Linked DNA regions of Homo sapiens: regions 1 and 3 are each linked to region 2. Evidence: promoter capture Hi-C in 16 types of primary human blood cells and fetal thymus (Javierre and others, 2016). All regions are on one chromosome and are shown on one strand. Each heading gives the region's core, a stretch centred on a gene start or on the middle of the fragment in contact. The rest is flanking DNA. Distances are from core to core; before and after follow the strand shown.

Region 1 (3,762 bases), core at 1,210-3,709, 1.2 Mb before region 2:
CCCTATCTTCTTGAATTCTAGGTGTTTGGTAAGAAATAAAATATTAAAATAAGTTAAAAAGAGCCCTGACAAAAGCCAGAAATTGGCAGACCTGGGCTGCTATGGGAGTTTTGCCATAGTTGGGGACCCAGGCTCCTTTCAGCTTTCCTTTCCACTTTTAGGCTGAGGGCCTCAGCCTCAGGGTCCACAGTGGCTGTTATTTCCACAGCAGTCACAACCACATTCCAAACAGCAGGAAAGAGGGAAAAAGGCACACTCTTCCCTTTCTACAAAGGTTTGCCAGAAGTACCAGCCAACACTTCCGTGTAAAACTCACTGGCTGGAATCTAATTATATGGCCATACCTAGCTGCAAGGTGTATGGAAAACACAGTCTTTAGGCTGGATTCATTGCTACTTTGAATAAATTACTGCTGCTAAGTAAAAGAGGAAAGAGATATTTATAGGTAACTAAACGTCTCTGACAATCAAGGTATTTCTTCTAGCACTTCTGATGAGCCTCTGAGAATAGCTCAGTCATAGTCACACATTCTACAGCAAGAAGGTCTTTGCACAGTCCACAGAACAAAGCACCCTCTCCCTGAGCTGTGGAGGACAGTGCTGGAATCATGGATCCAATGGGAGGAAAGAAGTTTCAGAAAATCCCATCTATCAGAAGAGGCTCTGGAAGGTAAAGCCCCAGCAGTGAGTCATCACCACCCAGGGACTGAGTCAGTGTCAGAGCAGCTCCTGGCTTGAACCACTCTGGGTCATGCTAAAGGAGGGTCAAGCTTGGCTCCTTTAATAGCTGAGGAAACCAAGGTCATAATCATAACTTTACAAGCAATGGAATCCTTTCGCTGAATGAGTATTCACTCTCCGCAAACACTGTTCTAGGTGCTGTAGACTCAAACACTGAGAAGCATCCCTTCCTCTGAAGATGACTCCTGTATTGCAGGTGAAAGAATAGGTCAATTACAGGTTAAAAGATGGCGTGATAGTAGATGTTGCTTGTGTAGTATGGTAGAATCATCTAAATCATATAGGAAGCAAAAGAAGACTTCTCTTAAGCCGAAATCCTGCTGGGTTTTGAAAGACAAGTTGTTGAAATAACACATAAACAGGTATAAACATAAACCATGATATGTTCAAGGGGAATACTGGTGGTTCACTCTAGGTGGAACATGTGGTAAAAGTGGACAGCTAGAGATTCAATCTTGAAAAATGATAACAGCTAACAGCCTATGATGTGTCAAATTCTGTTCTAAGTGTTTTAGGTATATCAACTCATTTAATTCTCTTGACTACCTTAAGAGTAAATAGCACCATTTTATAGGTAAGGAAACTGAGTCCCAAGAGCAAGTTCACACAGCTAGTATATGACAGAACTCGGAGACAAAGAGCCACGACTGGTGAAGACAATAAAATCGCGGTATACGTTGCTTGGGCGTTCTACCAGGCTAGTCCCTGCCTAGCACATTTCTTCCACATGCTGCTGTCCACCATACAGGCGGCTTTTATGAAATGGGGGAAAAAAGCCATCAGTTGTCATAGAAACAATAGCAATTTGTGCCACCTGTGTGCAAGCAGATAGGAGAGGCTTGCTGCTGCTGTTTGGCTATTGTCCAAGGACCCAGATTGAGAAACATCAACTGGCTTAAAAGGGAGCCCCTGAATTTGAATGTAGGCAGTCTGAACCTAGGATCTGTGCTCTTAGCCACTACACAAAACTGTATCATACTACAATCTGGTAAAGGATGATTATAACTTGGAATTTGAACTTTCTTTGAAAGGGAATGAGGAACCTTTGAAGGGTTTTAAACTGAATGGTGCTAGGGACAAATTGGTGTTCTGAATCTTTTCTAAAGAAAGTGTCTCTAAGCAAGGTGCAGTGGCTCACACCTGTAATCCCAACATTTTGGAAGGCCAAGGTAAGAGGATCACTTGAGCCCTTGAAGTTCAAGACCAGTCTGGGCAAAATAGAGAAACCCTGTCTCTCCAAAAAAATAAAAAATTAGCTGGGCATGTTGGCACATACCTGTAGTCCTAGCTAATTGGGCGATTGAGGTGGGAAGATCTCTTGAGCCCAGGAGTTTGAGGTTGCAGCGAGCTATGATCTCACCACTGCACTCCAGCCTGAGCAACAGAGCAAGACCCTGTCTCAAGGAAGTCTCTCTGAAGGTGTGTGAAAGTCAGAAGGGGTGAGACTGAAGTGATGAGCCAAACTAGGACAGCTGGGACCTGAAGGCACGCAGACCTGTTTGGGTGAAGTCAGTACTAGGAAGAAGTCCCTGGGAGTACTGACATCATGAAGTCCAGTTGCATCCAACAGGGTAGACGGGCAGCTGGAGCACTGCCTCAGAGAGCCAAGTAATTGTATCAGAAGAACCCAGAAATAGACACCCAGCACAGCGTCCAGCATTTAGGAGCAAGACTCTGGTCCCAGGATAACTGGGCACAAGGAAGGCGAGAGAAGGTGATCAAAAAATGCCAGAAGGTGAGGGCAGGTGCTGTGGCTCATGCCTGTAATCCCAGCATTTTGGGAGGCTAAGGCAGGAGGATCCCTTGAGCCCAGGAGTTTGAAGCTACAGTGAGCCATGATCCCTGTACAGGGAAAGGGTTCAGGAGCTCAGGCCCTGTAGGTAACAAGACTAGGACTCAGTTACCAGAACAGCAGTATAAGCAGAGCTTAGACACAAAGAATCGGGCAAGAACCTAGTTCCTAGAACCTACTCTTAGAGTTACTACAAAGTGAAAGGGAAACCATCACAGGCGAACTCCATGAAGTAACATCAAAGCTCCCAGCTTAAAGATCCCACTGTCCTAATGTTCTGGACAAGAATTTCAGGTCAGGCTGAAAAATTGGTTCAGGAGGAGGCTCAGGGGCCTTGCCCAGGCTGCTGGAGGAAGCAGCCAAGTAGCGTGTCCCTGAATTTCTGGCCCAGTCCTAGCCCTAAGCCAACCCAACCCCCCGAACCCAGAAGTTTTCACCACAGGGCATGGGACACTAGAAACACAATGACTTAAATAGATGCTAAAAGGAATCTGGGTGAAACCACTGGAAACATTCAAATGACCGAGCCCAAGAATCTTGTATTTAATCAGGGTTCTCCAGAGGAATAGAACCAATAGGATATATACAAGGGCAGGGAAAGACCAACGTCCTTGCTCAAGCAACCAGGCAGGAAGCAAAAGGTGGCAAACTCCTTCCCCTACCTTTGTTCTACTCAGGTACTGAACAGATTATTGGATGATTCCCACCTACATTGGTAAGTATGGACCTTCTTTACTTGGTCTTCTGATTCAAATGGTAATTGCACCCTCATTGACTGTTGCAGAAATAAATTACAAATACATATAGGAAAAAGGACTTCAAAAGGCTGCGGTATCAAAGTGGCAGTTAAAGAGAAGGCAATACTCAGAGTTGCAGGTGGAGCAGCGGAAACTATGTTTATCAGCTTTACCCAGCCATCCCTCAGCCCAGTCAAGTTGACACATACAATTAACCATCTCAGAACTTGTGACCAACAAATGGATTTTGGATGCTGTCATGCCAAGTAGGCTTTCTTATCCCTAGTCTTTCAAGCGAAGTTTCATCTGGCTTTTCTCAGTAGGACCATCAAGTCCACAGAAGCCACGTCTTCCCCACTTTGACATGAGCAAGGAGATCCCAGGCATATAGCCTATAAAGGGGGTCAGACAGGGAAAGAAGCTGGAAGTGGACCAGCCAGAGTATCCCACTGGGATTTTGACAGCTGGAAGGCATGACAGAGATCTACTGTGA
Region 2 (3,985 bases), core at 274-2,773:
ATATTGTCTAGAAGAATAAATTCCTTAAGAAATAAAATAATGCAAATAATACTGAACATTCAGAAGCATGAAATCTGATGCTGATCGCTTTGGTTTATTCTTTATAGTTCTGTGGAACTATAAGGACATGCTCTCTTCCTATGAGCATTTTGCTCCTCTGGTTTTTATTTTCCCATCTCATATATATCCTAAAGTAATATACATATATACAAATATAAAGTGTTTGATAGTACATTTATATGCATAATTATCAAACAAAATTGTATGCTTTGTTCTCAATTGTAAAAGGTCAATTCGTATATATTTAAAAATCTTTCCTTCCCATTCCAGCAAAGTTGCATTCTTAAAAACTGTAAGTCGAAAAAAATTTTTTTTTCTTTTTTGAGATTCAGTCTGGCTGTCACCCAGGCTGGAATGCAGTGGTGTGATCTTGGATTATTGCCACCTCCACCTCCTGGGTTCAAGCGATTCTCCTGCCTCAGCCTCCCGAGTAGCTGGGGTTACAGGCTCGCACCACCACGATTTTCTTAATTTTAGTAGCTCGCGCCACGGCTGATTTTCTTATTTTTAGTAGAGAGAGGGTTTCATCATGTTGGCCAGGCTGGTCTCGAGCTCCTGACCTCAAGTGATCCGCCCGCCTCGGCCTCCCAAAGTGCTGGGATTACAGGCGTGAGCCACCGCGCCGGGCCTCAAGTCTAAATTTTTAAAAGAAAGTTTCTTCCAACCGCATTCACGAGAAGTGCTTCTCTTTCATGAAATAACAATTAGAACACAACTAGTGAAACCTTTGGGACTTCAATCACTACTTTTTCTAAACTACCACTTTCCAGCAGGAAGACGGAGCGGTAGCTTGGGGTAAAAATTAAAACCTAGCATTACCATGAGTTAAGATCGAGATAAATAGATCAAAATAAATGGGTCACTGCTGGCGCTTTACTTAGAAAAATAAAAAATTTCTCATCACTAGAACTCATAATCGCTCCGCAAGGAGGGCAAAACTGGGTTTATTAAAGTGAAAGCTGGAGAATCCAGGGGACACAAGCAGAAAGCTGTCAAAGAGGGGAGGGGCCGGGTTCCAGCACCGACAGGACCAGGATACTTATTTCCGACTCTTGAGAGAGTAGGGCGATACCACACCTCCGCGGCTCCAGCGTGTTCACCACAAAATCTTTTCCCTGCGGCCACCACCATCCTGCAGAACCGTTTCTTCTTTTCCACATAGTAACCGCATCTACCCTCAGCTGGAAAACCAGGCGCGTGCGGCGACGTCGCGGAGGTCGCCATAATTCTAGGGCTCGCTTCCGGTGTCCAGCATCCGGCAACCAGAAGAAAAGTTAGAAGCTTCCTTCGGGTCTCCTTCCCTTAACAAACATGGCTGCCTCAGCCCCCGCGCCACACAGGTTAATACCCGGAACTACCACAACCGTCTTCCCTTTATCCTCCGCAGAACCGGAAGAATCCGATGGTGGCTGGCGAGGGCCAAGTCTCTTACGCCTTCCCCTCGTTTCTCCCTCCCCGCCTCCTCCGCAGAAGCCGAGCGCCAAACTCAAACTTTATCAGGACCCGGACCTCTCAGGCTAATCCCGAGGGCCGGGCCTGTTGGGCTTTTCTGCACACCAGCCGAGGCAGCGAGCCAACATGAGCCAAGTGCTGTTCCACCAACTAGTCCCGTTGCAGGTGAAATGCAAAGACTGTGAGGAGAGGTAAGGTCCGCGTCATCCAGTGCCCGCGGGTGGCGGTTGGGGTCAGGCCAATGGGGAAAGATGGCGGTTCTGGCCCGTGGGATCCACCTTGCACCTAGGTGTCGAGTCGGCCCCCCTAGGAAGCGGATAGGGAACCCAGAGGGCCCGGTGGTTACCTCTCTCACCAAGTCGGCCGTTGCAGAGGGGACTGGAGGAAGGGTGTGAGGAGTTAGGAAGCCGGCTCACATCAAGTTAATGTCAAAAACCCTACCTGTGCACGGAATCGTGAAGATTATAGCCCTACTCTTCCCTTTTGACAGATAAGAACTCTGGCCCAGAGAAGTTAAAAAAATTTACGTGAGGGCTCACAGCCAGTTCATGGCAGGGTCAGGACTAGAACTCAGGCCTTGGCTCCGAGCCTTTCCCCCTCGTTCTCTTTTGAAGTATGTTGGCAGTAAAGTTCAACTTTTAAAAACCTACCAATTTGGTGGCGTACTTTGGCTCTTCACATCAGTTGCTTTAAAAAAGTAAATTACATTTAACCGACTAAAAATGAGAAAAGCAGAAACGTCATTAATTCATTCAATAAATATTGCCTCCTTGTAAAACACCTTACTGGGCACTGGGAATACAGTGGTCAGGAAAAACAGTCCTTTTCTTCATGGAGTTTACAATCACTGGAGGAAATAAAGACCAGTCGCACAGAGAAGTGCAACTTTGATTAAGGAGGTGGTATTATTGGGGCGTAAATAGATTTGACCAGAGGTCAGGAGACTTACTTTTTTTTTCTCAGTTCTAACACTCAATGGTTGTCTCTTTTTTTCTCTGAACGTTCTTTCCTCATTTGTAAAACTGATATAACATGCGTATTCACGTGTTTGTAATGAGGATCAGGTGTGAAATCTTTTGCGTATTCACGTGTTTGTAATGAGGATCAGGTGTGAAATCGTATGTGAAAACTAAGTGGTGTACAAATGTAACATAAAAAATGAAGACATTGCCTTATTGAGTTGCCAGTAATGTCAAACTGTAGTATATATAGTTCAGAATTCGGTCAAAAATCAATGGCAAGCCGGTCAAGGAGATGGTCCCAAAACCAGCAGCTGCATATGGAGATCTGTAGGTTTAGTTGATCATTCTTTTAATGCTGTCCAGTATGGTAGCCACTAGCCACATGTGGTTATTAGACATTTGAAATGGGGCTTATCTGAATTGTTGTGCTTTACATATGAAAATGCACGTTGGATTTTTAAGACTTACTATGAAAAAAGAATGTAAAATATGTCAATTTTTATATTATGTGTTAAATGGCAATATTTTTGGGTATATTGGGTTAAATACAATGTATTATTAAAATTAATTTCACCTGCTTTTAAAAGTCTTTTTAAAATGTGACTTCTAGAAAATTTAAAAGTAGGCTAGGTATGGTGGCTCACACCCGTAGTCCCAGCACTTTAGGAGGCCAAGACAGGAGGATTGCTTGAGCCTAAGCTTGAGGTTACAGTGAGCTACTATTTGTGCCACTGTACTCCAGCCTGGGTGATAGAGCGAGATCCTGTCTCTGAAAAAAAAAAAAGAAAAAGAAAAAAATTAAAATTACATACCTGGCTCACATTTGTGGCTTACATTGTATCTCCATTGGACAACACTGTTTTAGAATGATTATAGAAAGATAAAGGAGGCCATGACTTTGGTTTCAATATGGAAACTCCTAGATGGTCTCTTTCTGGTTACATTGCCATCACAGTTAATCTAAAAACTCAATTTCTCTGCTTAGAAACCTTTAATATATTCCTATTATCTGTATAATAGGGGTCAGCAAACTGGAGCACATGGGCCAGTTGGCTCACTGTTTTCGTAAATAAACTTTTCTTGGAATACAGCCATGCTCATTTGTTTACATATTGTAGCTGCTTTTGCACAGGAAGGGCAGAGATGAGTAATTGTGACAGAGACCTTATGGCCCGCAAAGCCTAAAATATTTGCTATCTGGCCCTTTACAGAATAATTTGGTGATCCTTGACCTATAGGAAGAACAACCCAGACTCTCTCTCTTTCTCTCTCTCTTTTTTTTTTTTTTTCTAGACAGAGTCTCGCTCTGTTGCCCAGACTGGAGTATTGTAGCACGATTACAGCTCACTGCAGCCTTGACCTCCTGGGCCCAAGGGTTCCCCTCACCTTAGCCTCCTGAGTAGCTGCAATTACAGGCGCATACCACCACGCCTGGCTTTTTTTTGTTGTTAATTTAATTTAAAAGAGACGGGGTCTCCCTGTATTGCCCAGGCTGGTCTTGAACACCTGGG
Region 3 (3,726 bases), core at 982-3,481, 1.1 Mb before region 2:
TTAGGGCCAATGAAACCTAGATTCAAGTCCCTGTTCTGCCAATTACTAGTTCTGTATCCTTGAACACAGTTTTTAAAAACTTCCTTGAGCCTCGGTTTCTTGCTACACACAATGGTGATTCTAAGGATTAAATGAAAGAGGCAATATAAAAGGACCTTTCTCATCACTAGTATATAACAGGTGTTCAATAAATTACAGCAATGATTATCATCATAGTAAAGAATCAATATTCACATATATAATAAATGGATGAAAGAGAAAATCCTGGAAAAAGAGCTAAAGCCACAGGGGACTGTAAATGTACATATACGAACAAAGAGGAGGTGATGATGTATGTTTTCGTGTGTATGCGTATGCCTGTATGTGTGTCCAGTGTGGGAGCAAACTGCAAGTGCAGGATAAAGAAAGAGAGAGAGAGATCTGACAGCAAAGATGGAGAAGAGGATAAGGAAAAATAAGAGGAAGGGAGAACCTTTTAGAGAAAGCGAAGGGCACATTGGGATCAAGAGGAAAGGTTTGACTTAAAGGTCTGCAACCACTGTCAATTCCAAATCAACAGACAGACAGACAAGTTCCAGGGCCGCCAACACCTGGGTGCAGTCCAGTCACCTGGATAGTCAGAGAACCATAAAGCTAATAAACAATGAGTTCCTTAAGGCACCAGCCATGCTTCTGTAACAAGTAAAATTTTGAATATTAAAATGCATTTTTTTTGCCTCCTTGAGTAGAAACCTTCACATTAGTCTGCCCTAGCCAATGACTTGCCCAGATGGAGAGTCTGAATTTATTATAGAAGAAGAACAAGAGAATGAGTAACATTCTGCTTCTGTCTTTCAGAAAGTAGGTTTATACAAGCCTCTTGAAAAGGGATTTGCTGAACTCCCTTGTGAGGCATTAGTATTTTAACAACCAAGCATGGAGATTTCAGATCAATGTGGTTTAAAAACAAAAATAAAAAGAAGGTAACCTGCTTGTCATTAAGATTAAGCTAGGAAGAGTCAGGAAGAAGATAGAATAGAAAGAAAGAAAGAAAGAAAGAAAAAGAAAGAAAGAAAGAAAGAAAGAAAGAAAGAAAGAAAGAAAGAAAGAAAGAAAGAAAGAAAGACAGACAGACTAGCCCTTTGTTAGTGTGGAGAACTGTGGAAAGCAGAGAGAGAGGGAAATGAACTGGTGAAGGTTGTCCTAATCTCCCCTCCCCCAGCTCTTCTGAGTTTGGCCCAGGTAGGGAAAGGGGCACAAGGGAAGCAAAGTTAACTCCAAAGGCAGAGTGGGGGCCACTATTAAAAAGACTCCTCATGAACTCAAAAGAGGGGGCTCTGTGTGTGGCATGCTCCCATACAAACCTAGGGACCAAGCCCACCCCTAGGTAGGTCAGACATGGTCAGTCAGAGCGAGGTAGAGAGGACTCAGAAAGAGCAAGCCTCTCTGCTTATCAGAGGCAGGTAAAGCCAGGGCTGGATGAAAGGCCAACCAAACTTCAAAGGGATCTCTAGCACCAGGGGAAACTGAAATGAGGGCAGGTCAGCCAGAGCACACAACAGGACTTTAACCAGACCCAGTGAGACCAACCACAGGTCACACCCACTCAAGCAATCACCCCAGGGCAAGCAGTACCAAATGAGAAGGAGATAATTGGCTGGAGGAGAGCCAAGGCAAGCAGGGAACTGTGGCTGAGGACACCACCTCCTCCCCACCAACATGAGGTTGCATAGACCTCAGCCCTTCCCCAGGACTCTAGGCAAGCAGAAGAGGAAGAGCCTGAGAGCCTCAGTAATTTTTTTTTTTTTTTTCAGACAGAGTTTCACTTTGCCACCCAGGTTGGAGTGCAGTGGTACAATCTAGGTTCACTGCAACCTCGACCTCCCGGATTCAAGCTATCCTCCTGCCTCAGTCCCCACAAGTAGCTGGGACTACAAGTTCACACCACCACTCCCAGCTCATTTTTGTGTTTTTTGTAGTGATGGAGTTTTGCCATGCTGCCCAGGCTGGTCTCCAATTCCTGAGCTCAAGCCATCTGCCCATCTTGGCCTCCCAGAGTGCTGGGATTTCAGGCATGAGCCACCATGCCTGGCCTAGCCTCAGCTTTTTTTTGTTTTTGTATTGTTTGGTTTTAGCCTCACCATTTTTATCCAAAGGAGGCAGAACAAGCATTCAAATGGATTAAATTACTGACTGGGACTACATTTTAAACCAGTCATTTAGTTAACGTTATTCCCCCTTCTAACTAGAACGTAAATGTCTGTGAGGGAAGACGGAATAGGATAGACTAAATAAATTCATTTTTCTGCACATCCAAGTTGCAATGTAGGTCAAATTTTGCAATTTCATCATACATTCTTTTTTTGATCTCATGCAAAAAGAGAATCTGAGCACAAAACATAGTTGTTGACTAGCAGAACTTCCAACGGAATGAATTCTTTGAAAAAGCAGGAATATTCATCTAATGCGGCCTGGCTTTAGTGGGGAGGGTCAGTGTAAAGTAGGAAAAAGAAGAGAGGGAACTGATCGTGGCAAGGGTTTTGTCTATTTTGCTCACTGCTCTAATGGCAGTACATGGAGCATAGTAGATGCTTCATAAATATGCGTTAAATGAATGAGTAAATGAACATTTGTTGACTATCATCTATCTTGGGCCAGACATTAAAAAATATAATTCTATTTATTTATTTATTTATTGAGACAGAGTCTCACTCTGTCACCCAGGCTGGAGTGCAGTGGTGCGATCTCAGCAAACTGCAACCTCCACCTCCCAGGTTCAAGCAATTCTCCTGCCTCAGCCTCCCAAGTAGCTGGGACTACAGGCGCATGCCACCATACCCGGCTAATTTTTTGGTTTTTTTTTAGTAGAGATGGGGTTTCACCGTGTTAGCCAGGATGGTCTCGATCTCCTGACCTCATGAGTCGCCTGCCTAGGCCTCCCAAAGTGCTGGGATTACAGGCATGAGCCACTGCACCTGGCCAAATATAATCCTATTTAAATCACACAACAGTCTTTGAAGTTAGTTATTATCATTATTTTATTTTTTTAACAACTTGTAATCAATTTATTAAAATGGCTTACTTAAGCATCTGCAATGGTGCCTTCCACCTCAACTCCTGGCTCAATACTGATGGAAGTAACCTGCTTAACAATCTCAGAAGGACTGTGCCAGTCAATAAGTCGCTTGTGGATTCTCATCCCGAAACAATCCCATGTCTTAGAACATTCACAAGGGGTTTTTCTTGTAGTGATTCTCAAAGTCTTGGTAGGCATTCGAACTGGTCCTTTCACTTTGAGATTCTTTTCCTTTGCTCCTCTGATCAAGTCAGCACACACCTTCTCCAGGGATTTTACTTTGCGGCTTGTTACAGTGATTCGAATTCGGTGAATTGCCACCTCTGGCTCCACGAGTGTGTTTCCGGAATTCTTTTTTTTTTTTTTTTTTTTTTTTTGAGATGGAGTCTCGCTCTGTCCCCCAGGCTGGAATGCAGTGGCGTGATCTCGGCTCACTGCGAGCTCCGCCCCCCGGGTTCACGCCATTCTCCTGCCTCAGCCTCCTGCGTAGCTGGGACTACAAGAACCTGCCACACCATGCCCGGCTAATTTTTTTTTTTTTTTTTTTTTTTTTTTTTTTTTTTTTTTTAGTAGAGACGGGGTTTCACCGTGTTAGCCAGGATGGTCTCGATCTCCTGACCTTGTGATCCGTCCACCTCGGCCTCCCAAAGTGCCCGGTATTCTTAAAAGCC

The links. Contacts are between HindIII fragments. The CHiCAGO score rates a contact against its expected background, and 5 or more counts as called.
Region 1: a contact is called between a fragment that was not itself captured here and the fragment with the promoter of SASS6 in region 2, in 4 of 17 cell types (fetal thymus, naive CD4 T cells, activated CD4 T cells and 1 more). The highest score is 12.7, in fetal thymus.
Region 3: a contact is called between a fragment that was not itself captured here and the fragment with the promoter of SASS6 in region 2, in 2 of 17 cell types (erythroblasts and fetal thymus). The highest score is 6.0, in erythroblasts.

What each region holds. Positions count from the first base shown.
Region 1 is chr1:101,311,360-101,315,121 of GRCh38, reverse strand. No RefSeq gene overlaps it. Among named protein-coding and RNA genes, the nearest start is that of LINC01307, 11 kb to the left of the region's middle. RefSeq lists an enhancer at 2,765-2,844. The HindIII fragment of the contact is 3,376 bases long and covers 772-3,762 here.
Region 2 is chr1:100,130,468-100,134,452 of GRCh38, reverse strand. SASS6 (SAS-6 centriolar assembly protein) reads left to right here and starts at 1,523. Exons shown (of 17, transcript NM_194292.3): 1 at 1,523-1,703. The coding sequence starts at 1,639. It overlaps TRMT13 (tRNA methyltransferase 13), which reads right to left and starts at 1,290. Exons shown (of 11, transcript NM_019083.3): 1 at 1,138-1,290. The coding sequence starts at 1,284. RefSeq lists enhancers at 1,076-1,605, 1,616-1,735, 1,140-1,742, 3,516-3,565 and a silencer at 1,738-1,901. The HindIII fragment of the contact is 1,832 bases long and covers 1,344-3,175 here.
Region 3 is chr1:101,255,959-101,259,684 of GRCh38, reverse strand. It overlaps the pseudogene RPS20P6. Among named protein-coding and RNA genes, the nearest start is that of S1PR1, 21 kb to the right of the region's middle. RefSeq lists an enhancer at 1-326. The HindIII fragment of the contact is 6,994 bases long and covers 1-3,726 here.